4 separate regions of the Homo sapiens genome follow, and regions 2, 3 and 4 are each linked to region 1. The links are contacts of gene promoters, found by promoter capture Hi-C in blood cells and fetal thymus (Javierre and others, 2016). All regions are on one chromosome and are shown on one strand. Each heading gives the region's core, a stretch centred on a gene start or on the middle of the fragment in contact. The rest is flanking DNA. Distances are from core to core; before and after follow the strand shown. Region 1 holds the start of SHF (Src homology 2 domain containing F). Region 2 overlaps SQOR (sulfide quinone oxidoreductase). Region 3 overlaps SQOR (sulfide quinone oxidoreductase). Region 4 has its middle 15 kb from the start of SQOR.

Region 1 (2,559 bases), core at 36-2,535:
GAGGGAGGCCAGGAGGAGAGGAGGAATGGGCTCAGCTGCTTAGCCCCATGTGGGCAACAGGTCCTGAGCACTGACTATCCTCATACCTGAGAGGACGAGGGAAGGAGGGAGGAGTGGGCCTGGACCCCACGAAGCCCCCTTGGCAAGAGCTGTAAGCTGCCTGTCTTCGCCTCCTGAGAACAACAGCCTATAGGGCAAAGGCCAGCTCGTGCTGTGTCCGCAAGGAGAAACCCGTCTTCACCTCCTTTCTGGGGCTTCAGCACCTGCAAGGATGCTTAGGCTGGAGAAACAGGAGGAGGAAGAGGAGGAGGAAGCAAAGAGGCAACAGGAGGGAAGAGCTTTGTGCTGGCTATGCCCAGGGGGAAGGGTCAGAGATCAAAGGGCACTGAGCCGCTGCTTCCAGAGGGGCAGAAAGGCCATCAACCAGTGGGGGTTGGGAGGTGCGCCTCAATTCCCGTTAGCAAAAGGCTCATGGATCAGGCTAGAGGGGGCTACGAAGTGGAGAGCCAGCCCGGGAGGGGGAGGGTCACCAGTTCTGGGGCCATTACAAAGGATAGGGCAGAGGGGCAGAGTTTGGGGCTTCCGTCTCAGATTAGTCGGTTGAGAATCTGAACAAAGGTGGGTGAAGGCTCGGAACCCCGGGGTCAGGGGCTCGCGTCTGCCAGAAGCTGAGACACCGAGGGGCCCGGGCCAGGCCACCTTTGTCCCTCTCGCAGCCTCCAGACCCCTGACCGCCTTCCCTCCTGGCCATCCCGGCCCGGCGCGGCACTCACCCTATCGCTGCTGGCGGGGGGTCCGGAGATCCGCTCATCAGCAGGCGGCGCCGGGGGCCCCGGGGTCTCGACCCGAATAAGGCGGTGTGGGGGAGAGCCGTGGCGCGGGGGCGGCGTGGGTCCGGGGGCGACAGGGGTGGCGAGGGCGGCGGAGCCGGACGACCCCCCGGAGTAGGGGTCTTCGAAGTCGCGCTCCCGCTGCAGCCTGTAGGCGGCCAGGATGTCCGGGGGCGGCGCGGGGGGCGCGGCCGGAGAGGGCGCAGGGGGGCGGTAGTCGGGCTCGGGGGGCGCCGGCTTGCTGCCCCCTCCGCCGCCGCCCCCCCCGCGGAAGCCCAGGTGCTCCCGGAGCCACTTGGCTACTCCGCCGCTGCCGCCCCCTCCTGGGCCGGCTCCCGCACCCCCGGCGCCCCGGCGGGACCCCCCCGGGCCGCCCCCAGCGCTCCCCTGCGTTCGCGGCCCCGGGCGGGAGCCAGCCGGAGGAGCTCCGCTCAGTAACATGGGGCCAGCCAGACTGAGCGAGGGGAGCGCAGCGGCGGGTGGGGGGCGGGGGCGGGGGTGGGGAGGGGGGCGGGGCTCCGCCGGGCGGGGAGGGGGCGGGGCGCTTCAGTAACAAGGGAGAGGCGGGGCTCCGCTCCCTAACAGGGTCTTCCTCCTCCCGTAGCTCGGAAGAGTGTACGCGGGCTTCCAGCCGGTATGCACAGGCAAGAAGTGAAGTGGGCAGCCCTGGGGCAGAGGATGCGACTACTGGACTGAGGTTGAATCCTTTACGTGTCGCCACGCGGTCCCCTGTGGGGAGCGCATCCATCCCCATCTGTTCTTTTCCCCAGCTCCCAGCTCGTGCGAGACGCAAAGAGGGGAGCCCCCAGACTCCTGACTCTAGGGAGCCTTACGCCTCTCCTCTTCCCTCTCCCAGGATCTCGCAACTGGGAAACTATAATCTAGGAGGAAAATCTAGGCGGGCAAGAAAAGGGGCTAGGTTCTGTAAGATGTGTCTGTAAGCCTCCTCCTCCCGTGCTACCTTGGGAGCCCCACAACCTCCTCCCATCCAACCGTACGCACTGCACATACCCGAACCTACGTTACTTCCCGATCCAGGCAAACACATCTCACATCACATACAAACAACTCCCTAGAGACGCCCACTTCTCCCGTGTCGTTTTCACACACGCCCTTCTCACACGCAAACAGCCCTCGCTCAAACATCCCCCACCCACGGGAGCACCTGCTCCAAACGGGCCCACATGGCCCTGACGATAGCATGCGCACGCACGCAGAAATCCCTTCCAGCCACATCCCGGGCTTCATTGTCAATCAGATTAGTAACAGAATGGAAACAGACAAGTCAATAAATCAAGTCTAGAAACAGTCCCAGTGTTGTCTATCACAAACTCCTTATCCTCTTGAGGCTCAGATGCTCAAGTGCTAGGCATTTTTGTCTTAGAAATAAAGCCAGTTCCGGCTGGGCGCGGTGGCTCACGCCTGTAATCCCAGCACTTTGGGAGGCCGAAACGGGAGGATCACGAGGTCAGGAGATCGAGACCATCCTGGCTAACACGGTGAAACCCCGTCTCTACCAAAAATACAAAAAAATTAGTCGGGTGTGGTGGCGGGCACCTGTAGTCCCAGCTACTCGGGAGGCTGAGGCAGGAGAATCGCTTGAACCCAGGAGGCAGAGGTTGCATTGAGCTGAGATTGCGCGACTGCACTCCAGCCAGGGCGACAGAGTGAGACTCCGTCTCAAAAAAAAAAAAAAAAGAAAAAGAAAAAAGAAAAGGAAAGAAATAAA
Region 2 (2,559 bases), core at 21-2,520, 470 kb after region 1:
TTGGTGGTTTGCCTAATGTTTCCTGTGGAACTAGGCATGTACTGGTTGGGAGCTGTATCCTTGGGAGGAAAAAGCAAAATGGATCAGGTGCCTGTTTCAGGGGGAGGACAGGACAAGGAAGACATACTCCTTTTCAAGATTTGTCCCCAGCAGGGAATGATGTTAACCAGGGCCATGATTTGAGAGGAAACTAGGGGGCAGTCTCTATCATTTTCCTTTTTAAAGTGACGTCTGTTCAATTCAGGAACCTCACTTTAAATGACAGTGGTCTGAGAGCTGTGTCAGGTGGCTACTGTTTCTGGTATATGTTGTATTTTAGCTAATGCGTGGGCGGGTCTCCCAGTCAGGCTTCTCTTTGTAAGGAGACTGGCTCTTCTGGGACCTGGGCACAATTCAGGCGGCCAGAATCAAGTTTGTCCTGCCCCGTGAGGAAGTACAGGACAGGAATTTCTGGAAGGAGCTGCCAGAGCCCCAGGCTTGGTACTTTCCCTGCTGAGTCTGATTTAGTGATAGCTGGAGCTGATGTTCATAGTCTAAAAATAAAATCTGAGCTTGTATTTTTGCTCCTCTTACTGTTCAAGATAGACTGGCCATTGATGAGCTCTCATAAATGGAGACCTCTGTCTTCCTCCCTCTTGGATCACATTATTGCTTGTAGGGAGATTGCAAAGTCATTCCTGGTGTCCTCTTCACCTCTCTGTGGGTTTTGGCAGTGCTGGCCAGCTACTTTGAGGCATTTTGGCAATATTGAGAGCTCTTGGTCCCCAGTCTACTCTAAGTGGATTGGAATTCTTAGAGGCCATTAAACAAATCTGCCCTTTGCCCCTATGTCCAGAACTTTTACAACTAACTTAGATCAAGAATGGACTGTTGCTGGGCACAGTGGCTCAGGGCTGTAATCCCAGCACTTTGAGAGGCTGAGGAAGGCAGATCACCTGAGGTCAGGAGTTCAAGACCAACCTAGGCAACATGGTGAAATGCCATCTCTACTAAAAATGCAAAAATTAGCCAGGCATGGTGGCACATGCCTGTAGTCCCAGCTACTCAGGAGGCTGAGGCAGAAGAATCGCCTGAACCTGGGAGGTGGAGGTTGCAGTGAGCCGAGATCGTGCCACTGCACTCCAGCCTGGGTGATTGGGGTGATTGGGCGAGACTCTGTCTTAAAAAAAAAAAAAAAAAAAAAAAAGGACCATCTGAAGCAAGAAAACTCCAGAAGATAGTGAAAGTTTGGGTATGCATTGCATTGTGGAGTAGGATCTGGTACTTATTGTCTTTGGTGTAAAATCTCTGAGTCTCTGAGAAAGTAGAAGAAGGGCTGTTCAGGAAACACAGCCCTCACTGGGCTTGGGAAACACAGTTGGAAGTTAATGAAGTTTAGAGGACCTCTGGAAGGGGCTGTAAACTTTCCAGACTTACCACTGTCTCCACATGCTCCTGAGGAACCATATCTAGGCTGCTGGGCTTAATTTTTAAAATATTTGTTCACATGAAGTATCCATAATATGTGTGTAGATATGCACGTGCATATAACATGTACATATTAAACACCAAATCAACTTTCAGCAATACATAATGCAGTGGTCACTAAAGATAGTTTATAGCTTTTCTGATGATCTTGGAAGAATTCTTGTGTGGAGTGACTGTCCTTCAGAGCTTACCATAATAGGAGACGCCTAATAGACGGAGCTAACTTTGTGGAGACTTTTCCATACGATGCTCTAAAGGTCAGGAGGGAGTGATTGAAAGAATCTAGCCCATACTGTTAGCTATGACCCCTTTTGATCAGTGTCAAATTGCAATAAATCTTCAAATACTTTGTTTCTCAGAGACATTTCTACCAGCCAATCTGGACACTGGTGGGTGCTGGTGCCAAACAATTGTCCTCATCTGGTCGTCCCACGGCAAGTGTGATTCCATCTGGTGTAGAATGGATCAAAGCTAGAGTGACTGAGTTGAACCCAGACAAGAACTGCATTCACACAGATGACGACGAGAAGGTAACCACTGAGGCCTTTAGATTTTTTGTTAATCTGACAGCTTGTATTAATATGCAGCCATCTTAAACTGGATAGCCTTGTGTTGAAAGAGCGGTATATATGCATGTGTGTGCATGAACGTATGTGTGTTGAATACTACACAAGATGGCAGGGTATGTGGTAAGTGGAGGATAGATGGAAGGACTGAGTGATATTGAGTTAATAAACAACTAAGATAAGTATTTGTTGAACACCCACTGTGCACCCTATTGCTTAGTATACTATCTTGCACCTGAATGTTTATCAGACCATTTGTTTATACGTTGCTACATGTTAAAATAGCAAGCACCTTCCTCCTTCTCTTTTTCTGAAGCAATCAGATTTTCTACCGGTCGCCTAGCCTCCCAGAACAATAGGATGCTGGAAAATATCCATCCAGCCACCCTGGGGGGCGCTCTACCAGAACTGTAGGGGAATCCTGTGACTCTGAGGTTCATGCCAGCGCTAAGGAGAATTGTTGCTGGAGCTTGAGGCTCACAACTGCTCAGCACCTTTTAGAAGTCTCCCACCCTCACCACTCAGG
Region 3 (2,559 bases), core at 43-2,542, 450 kb after region 1:
AAAGGCACACTGAGAAGGTGGCCATCTGCAAACCAGGGAGAGAGATCCCAGGAGAAACCAGTCTCATCAGCACTGAGGTCTTGGACTTTCAATCTCCAGAACTTTGAGAAAATAAATTTCTGTTCTCTAGACTTCATCTAGTCTATAGTGTTTTGTTATGGCAGCCCTAGAAAATTAATACAACTGGTTCTACCAAATGGACAATAGGTTTAAAAAAAATGGCTACAACTAGGCACCATCTCTTTTAAGTCATGATCCCGACATGTCCATCACTTGCTCTTAGGATCTCTTACCCAACCTATGCAGAAGAGTCTCCCATGTACTTTCCTTCTACAGACACCCTGTGTGGTCCCTAGGATCTTGCCTGAAGTTGTTAAAGCCATATTCAGCTTCATGATTTTGACTGTTAGGAAAAGAAAAACTTGGCCTCTTCAGCAAGTGACCTAGGTTAGCTGTTGTGCCATGTACATAGTAAGTACTTTGTAAATGTATGGTGGGTGATGGGTGATGATGTTATGATCATCCTTAAATACCATGGGGTGACTCCCTTCTGATCATAATGAATCTCCATGTTTTGGCCCTAGCCCAGCCCTCAGGGAACTTTCATGCCACCTAGCTGGGAACCAGCAGCTCTGGCCCTAGCTACATGAATGGAGAGAAAATGGCTATGTCTGTATCCTGGTACCAATTCCTGACTTCTGGGAGGGAGGGCTGCTTCTGGAAGTGGGGATTGTGGTGATTTCACTCTATGATAACTTTCTTATATCTTTGGCTATTTGTTCTAAGGTAGCCCATGATGTCTCCATAGGAAAATGATGTGTTTTAACAACCACCATGTTTGGAGTATAGATTGTGAGAGCTCTTCAAGACAGTGCTGGGTCTAGTAAATGTGGTTTTGTGTTTCTGTGAGCACATAAATGATGCTTGAGATGGATGAGGGGCCATCTGAGTTTGGAGGAAAATCATGAGCCTTTCAAGGTCTAGGTGATCAAATCTAAGCTTGTTTTGAATCATTGAGTAAGAAAGGTCTTTAATGGCAACTAGACACCTCCACTTATTTTACACTCAGGGAAATGGACTCAAAATGGTAAATGACTATCTCATGGTCTTACAATCTCCATTTCCTCACTTATAAAATGGGAATAATAATTCCCACCTCTCTGGTTTTTGTGAGTAATTACGTAAAGTGCATAGCACAATGCCTGTCACATATCAACACTTCCACAAATGATTTGGGGACTTGCGGGGAGAGATTGAGAGGAATGGTTTCCATTCTAATTATGTTCCAGACCTGCTTATTAAAGCCTTGTTATTCTTTGCCACAAAAATTCACATCTCTGATCAATCTAAGGAGTTATTAGAACAAGCGTCCCCATTTGAAAGCCTGCTTGTGAACTTCCATTTTCCTTTTCTCATTTAGAGGATAGCAAAGTTTTAGAGAAGCAGGGGACCTTTGATGCCACCCAATCTGATCCTTTATTCCATTGATGAAGAAAGCATGGCCCAAAATGGGTCAGGAAGAGCTGTACCTAGCACTCCCTGGACTGTGGTCCTGGGTCTCTTGACTCTTGATATGCCCTCAGACAAAGCTTCACCAGGAACGGGTCATTGTCATCTAGCTGGACACAGAAGAGACGTGAGCTGTCTACACCTCATTCTGTCTCAACTATTAAAGGATTGAGTTTAGAGTCTCTCCAACTATGTCCAAATAGCAAATGTATACCTTGAAATTAAAGAGTGTTTTCTCATTATGGTAAGACCTCACACACTGGATTCCAAGGAATGATATACTTGAATGAAATGGCCAGTCCCGTTTACAGTGAACTCCTTGCATGTGAGACTCTGAGTGGAAATCCCAATGCTCCTGAGGCTGATGAGTAATTTTAATGTGGTCATTTAACAAACTCAGGAAAACAAGTTCATCCCTGTTGTGTGACTGGGAGTACACTGATTCCACCTCAGGCTTCTTTTTCCAGTGAGTCATGTCCTACAGTCTGCAGATGGGCACACACAGGCATATACAGACTAGAAAGGAAACCTGAAAATTACCTGACCAGAGGCCAACTATGAGTGGTGGGGTTGAAGGGGAGCTAAGTCGTGCTTCTTTATGTACTAGAATGTGAGAAGTCAGGCTCCCACTGGCTACAGCAAGCAGAAAAACAAGGTGTTCTTTCATTTTTTTTCCCCCTATATAATTCAGTCAAAACTCTTAACTTTCATTTGAAATAATCCAATTGACTGACATATTTTTTCTTTCCTGGAATCTGAATGCAAGCATTTTCCTTATGTAAATATAATTTGTGTTTTCTGCTTAGCAATTGTATTGGTTTGGTGAAATTGTCAGTTCTCTTGTTACAATGCATTCTCTGATTGTAAAATAAGGATAGGTCAGGATAATTTGTAGGAAATTTCTCAGGAGCAAAGGGAGCCACTGTTTCATTGTAAAGTCCTCATTAGCAACTCTTAATCAGTAACTCTGCAAAGAAAATTCCTACAGTTTTGCCCCTGAAGAGTGAGGGAACTAAAGAACCCCAGTGCAGCTCCCAGTCCTTGAATCAT
Region 4 (2,559 bases), core at 28-2,527, 430 kb after region 1:
ACACTCTTTGTGGCAACTGCTCAGCTCAGCTGTTGTAGCACAAAAGCAACCATAGACGATATGTAAGCAAACGAGTGTCCCGTGTTTTAACAAACCTTTGTTTATGAAAAATAGATGATTGACTAGATCAGGCCATCAATGGCTCCTGGGCCATCATATACTGATCCCTGATCTATTTATTTTTTTAAAGCAAATTGGAGGAGCAAGAGGCTGAGGGCAGTAATTTCAATAAAAATCCGGCTCCCTTGCCCAGTTCCCAGACTTAAGTTAATTTTTAGATCTGGATACATGGACTGGAGAGGTGGTTGAAGGAAGAACCGTGCAACATGATGGCAAACATATACTGTGATGATTCCCCTAGTCTCCTCAAAGGGACCTATGGCCATTTTCTTGGGTGACTATACACTGAAGGGGGAATAATCAGACATTTATAAAGTAATTGGACAGGCCAGGCGCAGTGGGTCATGCCTGTAATCCCAGCACTTTGGGAGGCTGAGGCTGGATCACTTGAGGTCAGGAGTTTGAGACCAGCCTGGCCAATATGGTGAAACCCTGTCTCTACTAAAAATACAAAAATTAGCTGGGCGTGGTGGTGGGCGCCTGTAATCCTGGCTACTTGGGAGGCTGAGGCAGGAGAATCGCTTGAACACAGGAGGCGGAGGTTGCAGCGAGCCGAGATCGTGCTGCTGCACTCCAGCCTGGGCGACAGAGCAAGACTCCCTCCCGCTAAAAAAAAAAAAAAAAACTATTGGACAAAGGGTCTGAGTTGCACTGATACTGAGAGACCCAAAGAAGCATCATAGCCCTGCTGTTAGAGCAGAGTTTAGGAGGACCAACTAAAAAATGGGGTGCTAGATAAAGCCCAGTTTACAATGGGCCCAGGAGGCCTGCAGATCCATTCAGTGGTCACACTACATCTTTTCCCACCACTCACACCTCCAACACCATGGGGGTCTGCTGGCAGAGCTGACTGCACTATGGCTTGGACCTGCTGCAGCACCCTTTCTCGTTCTAGCCCCACTCAAGCCAGAAGCTTTCTGTGTCACCCAGTACATGGGCCAGAAATATATCCCCCAGGGGTGGAATATGTTGTCTCAAGAACACAAAAAGGCCTACAAGGCACTGCCTTCTTTCCTCAAAACAGGGCTAGAAGATACATCAATTTGCCTTTTACTTTAGAACAGGCTATTCCAGAATACTTCCAACCACGAGACCTCCAAATATGTTTCTGAAATGGCCTGTTCTGGACTCTTCACAGGGTTTATCTCCTACGCTCTGAAATGCACGCATCTCATCAAGGCCTCCAGCATACTTGCCCCTCTGGCTGGTCCTGTCTAATGAGCTTTATGTCATCTCAGTGTAATGGATCAATGTGATATGTTCTTGGATGTTTAAGAGGTCCAGATCTCTCAGACTATCTTATAATAGGAGGTGGGATGGGTAATATAACTCTAAGGCAAACTGTAAATTAATATTGTATGGTTTTTCTGCCCACAGAGCCTCAGCCAGCACTTCCATCTGGAAGCTTAGGGAATGCTTGATCCACAGTTGTGGAATCCTGCGTAGCAGAGCATCCAACTAGGGAATCTACTTCAAGTGAAGGAGGTGTGGGAGTGGGTCCTGACCATGGGATTCTCTGGTTGTGTTATGAACTGCACCACCCAGAAGCAACTGGCCTTATAGATTGTTGAGATGGTCTTCTAAAGTAACAACTGAAATGGTAGCTCTGAGAAAGGATGTGAAATAATGAAGTGCCATCTTTCAGGACACGGTGCATTTATTAAATCAGTGACCTCTCTATGGTTCTACTTCCCTAGTAGGAAGGATACAAGGGTCAGGAAACTAAGGGGTGGAAGGAGAAGTGGCCCTACTTACCATCGTTTCCAGTGACCCACTTACTACCATTCCCCAGTGATCCACTGGGGGATTTTCTGCTTTCTTTCTCTGCAACTCTAGGCTCTGCATGATTGGAGGTCCTGATTCTCAAAGGGAACACACTCTTGCCAGGGATATAATAAAGGTGCCACTGAACTATAAGTTGTGGCTGCTGACAGGGTGCTTTGTACTTTTTGTGTTCAGGCACCAGCAGGCAAGAGAGGAGCTGGTATACTAGCAAAAGCACTGAAGTGATCGTTAGGGGGAGGTAAGTTCATTTACAAGATGGGGCAAGGAGGAAGATGTGTGGAACTCGGGTGATTCATTTGGGTACCTCCTGTACTCCCTAGCCCCATTATAACTGTGAATAGATAGACGCGGCAACCTCAGCCTTAGAAGAGTATGATTATCGTGAGTTCAGACCCCTCAGGAATGAAAGTTTGGGTTACACCACCAGGTAAGCCACCAAGACCGGCCAAGGCGATAGCTGAGGGTGAAGGGGATTTAGAATGAATAGTGGAAGAGGGAGAAGGTAAGTACTAATTGTGGTCCTGTGATCAACTGTGGTGATCTTGGGACTGTAATTCATCCAACCAACCCCCTCTGCTCAGTTGCCCCTTAGGAAGGAAGGCCCATGAGGACTATGGAGTAGCTGCTCCTTGCACCTGTGTGGAGAAGTACATC

What was found. The method cuts DNA at HindIII sites, captures the fragments that hold promoters and counts their contacts. A CHiCAGO score of 5 or more calls a contact.
Region 2: a fragment that was not itself captured here is called in contact with the fragment with the promoter of SHF in region 1 in 1 of 17 cell types (monocytes); the score reaches 6.1 in monocytes.
Region 3: a fragment that was not itself captured here is called in contact with the fragment with the promoter of SHF in region 1 in 5 of 17 cell types (monocytes, M2 macrophages, naive CD4 T cells and 2 more); the score reaches 9.3 in monocytes.
Region 4: a contact is called between a fragment that was not itself captured here and the fragment with the promoter of SHF in region 1, in 1 of 17 cell types (monocytes). The highest score is 5.8, in monocytes.

The regions. Positions count from the first base shown.
Region 1 is chr15:45,186,681-45,189,239 of GRCh38, forward strand. SHF (Src homology 2 domain containing F) reads right to left here and starts at 1,286. Exons shown (of 7, transcript NM_001394037.1): 1 at 774-1,286. The coding sequence starts at 1,271. It overlaps LOC124903481 (a long non-coding RNA gene), which reads left to right. Exons shown (of 2, transcript XR_007064608.1): 2 at 1,435-2,138. RefSeq lists an enhancer at 1-266 and a silencer at 1,181-1,230. The HindIII fragment of the contact is 22,026 bases long and covers 1-2,559 here.
Region 2 is chr15:45,660,129-45,662,687 of GRCh38, forward strand. SQOR (sulfide quinone oxidoreductase) reads left to right here. Exons shown (of 10, transcript NM_021199.4): 3 at 1,827-1,997. Among named protein-coding and RNA genes, the nearest start is that of SQOR, 26 kb to the left of the region's middle. The HindIII fragment of the contact is 2,590 bases long and covers 1-2,559 here.
Region 3 is chr15:45,638,862-45,641,420 of GRCh38, forward strand. The region is part of intron 1 of SQOR (sulfide quinone oxidoreductase); the gene reads left to right. Among named protein-coding and RNA genes, the nearest start is that of SQOR, 5.1 kb to the left of the region's middle. The HindIII fragment of the contact is 590 bases long and covers 998-1,587 here.
Region 4 is chr15:45,619,239-45,621,797 of GRCh38, forward strand. No RefSeq gene overlaps it. Among named protein-coding and RNA genes, the nearest start is that of SQOR, 15 kb to the right of the region's middle. The HindIII fragment of the contact is 492 bases long and covers 1,032-1,523 here.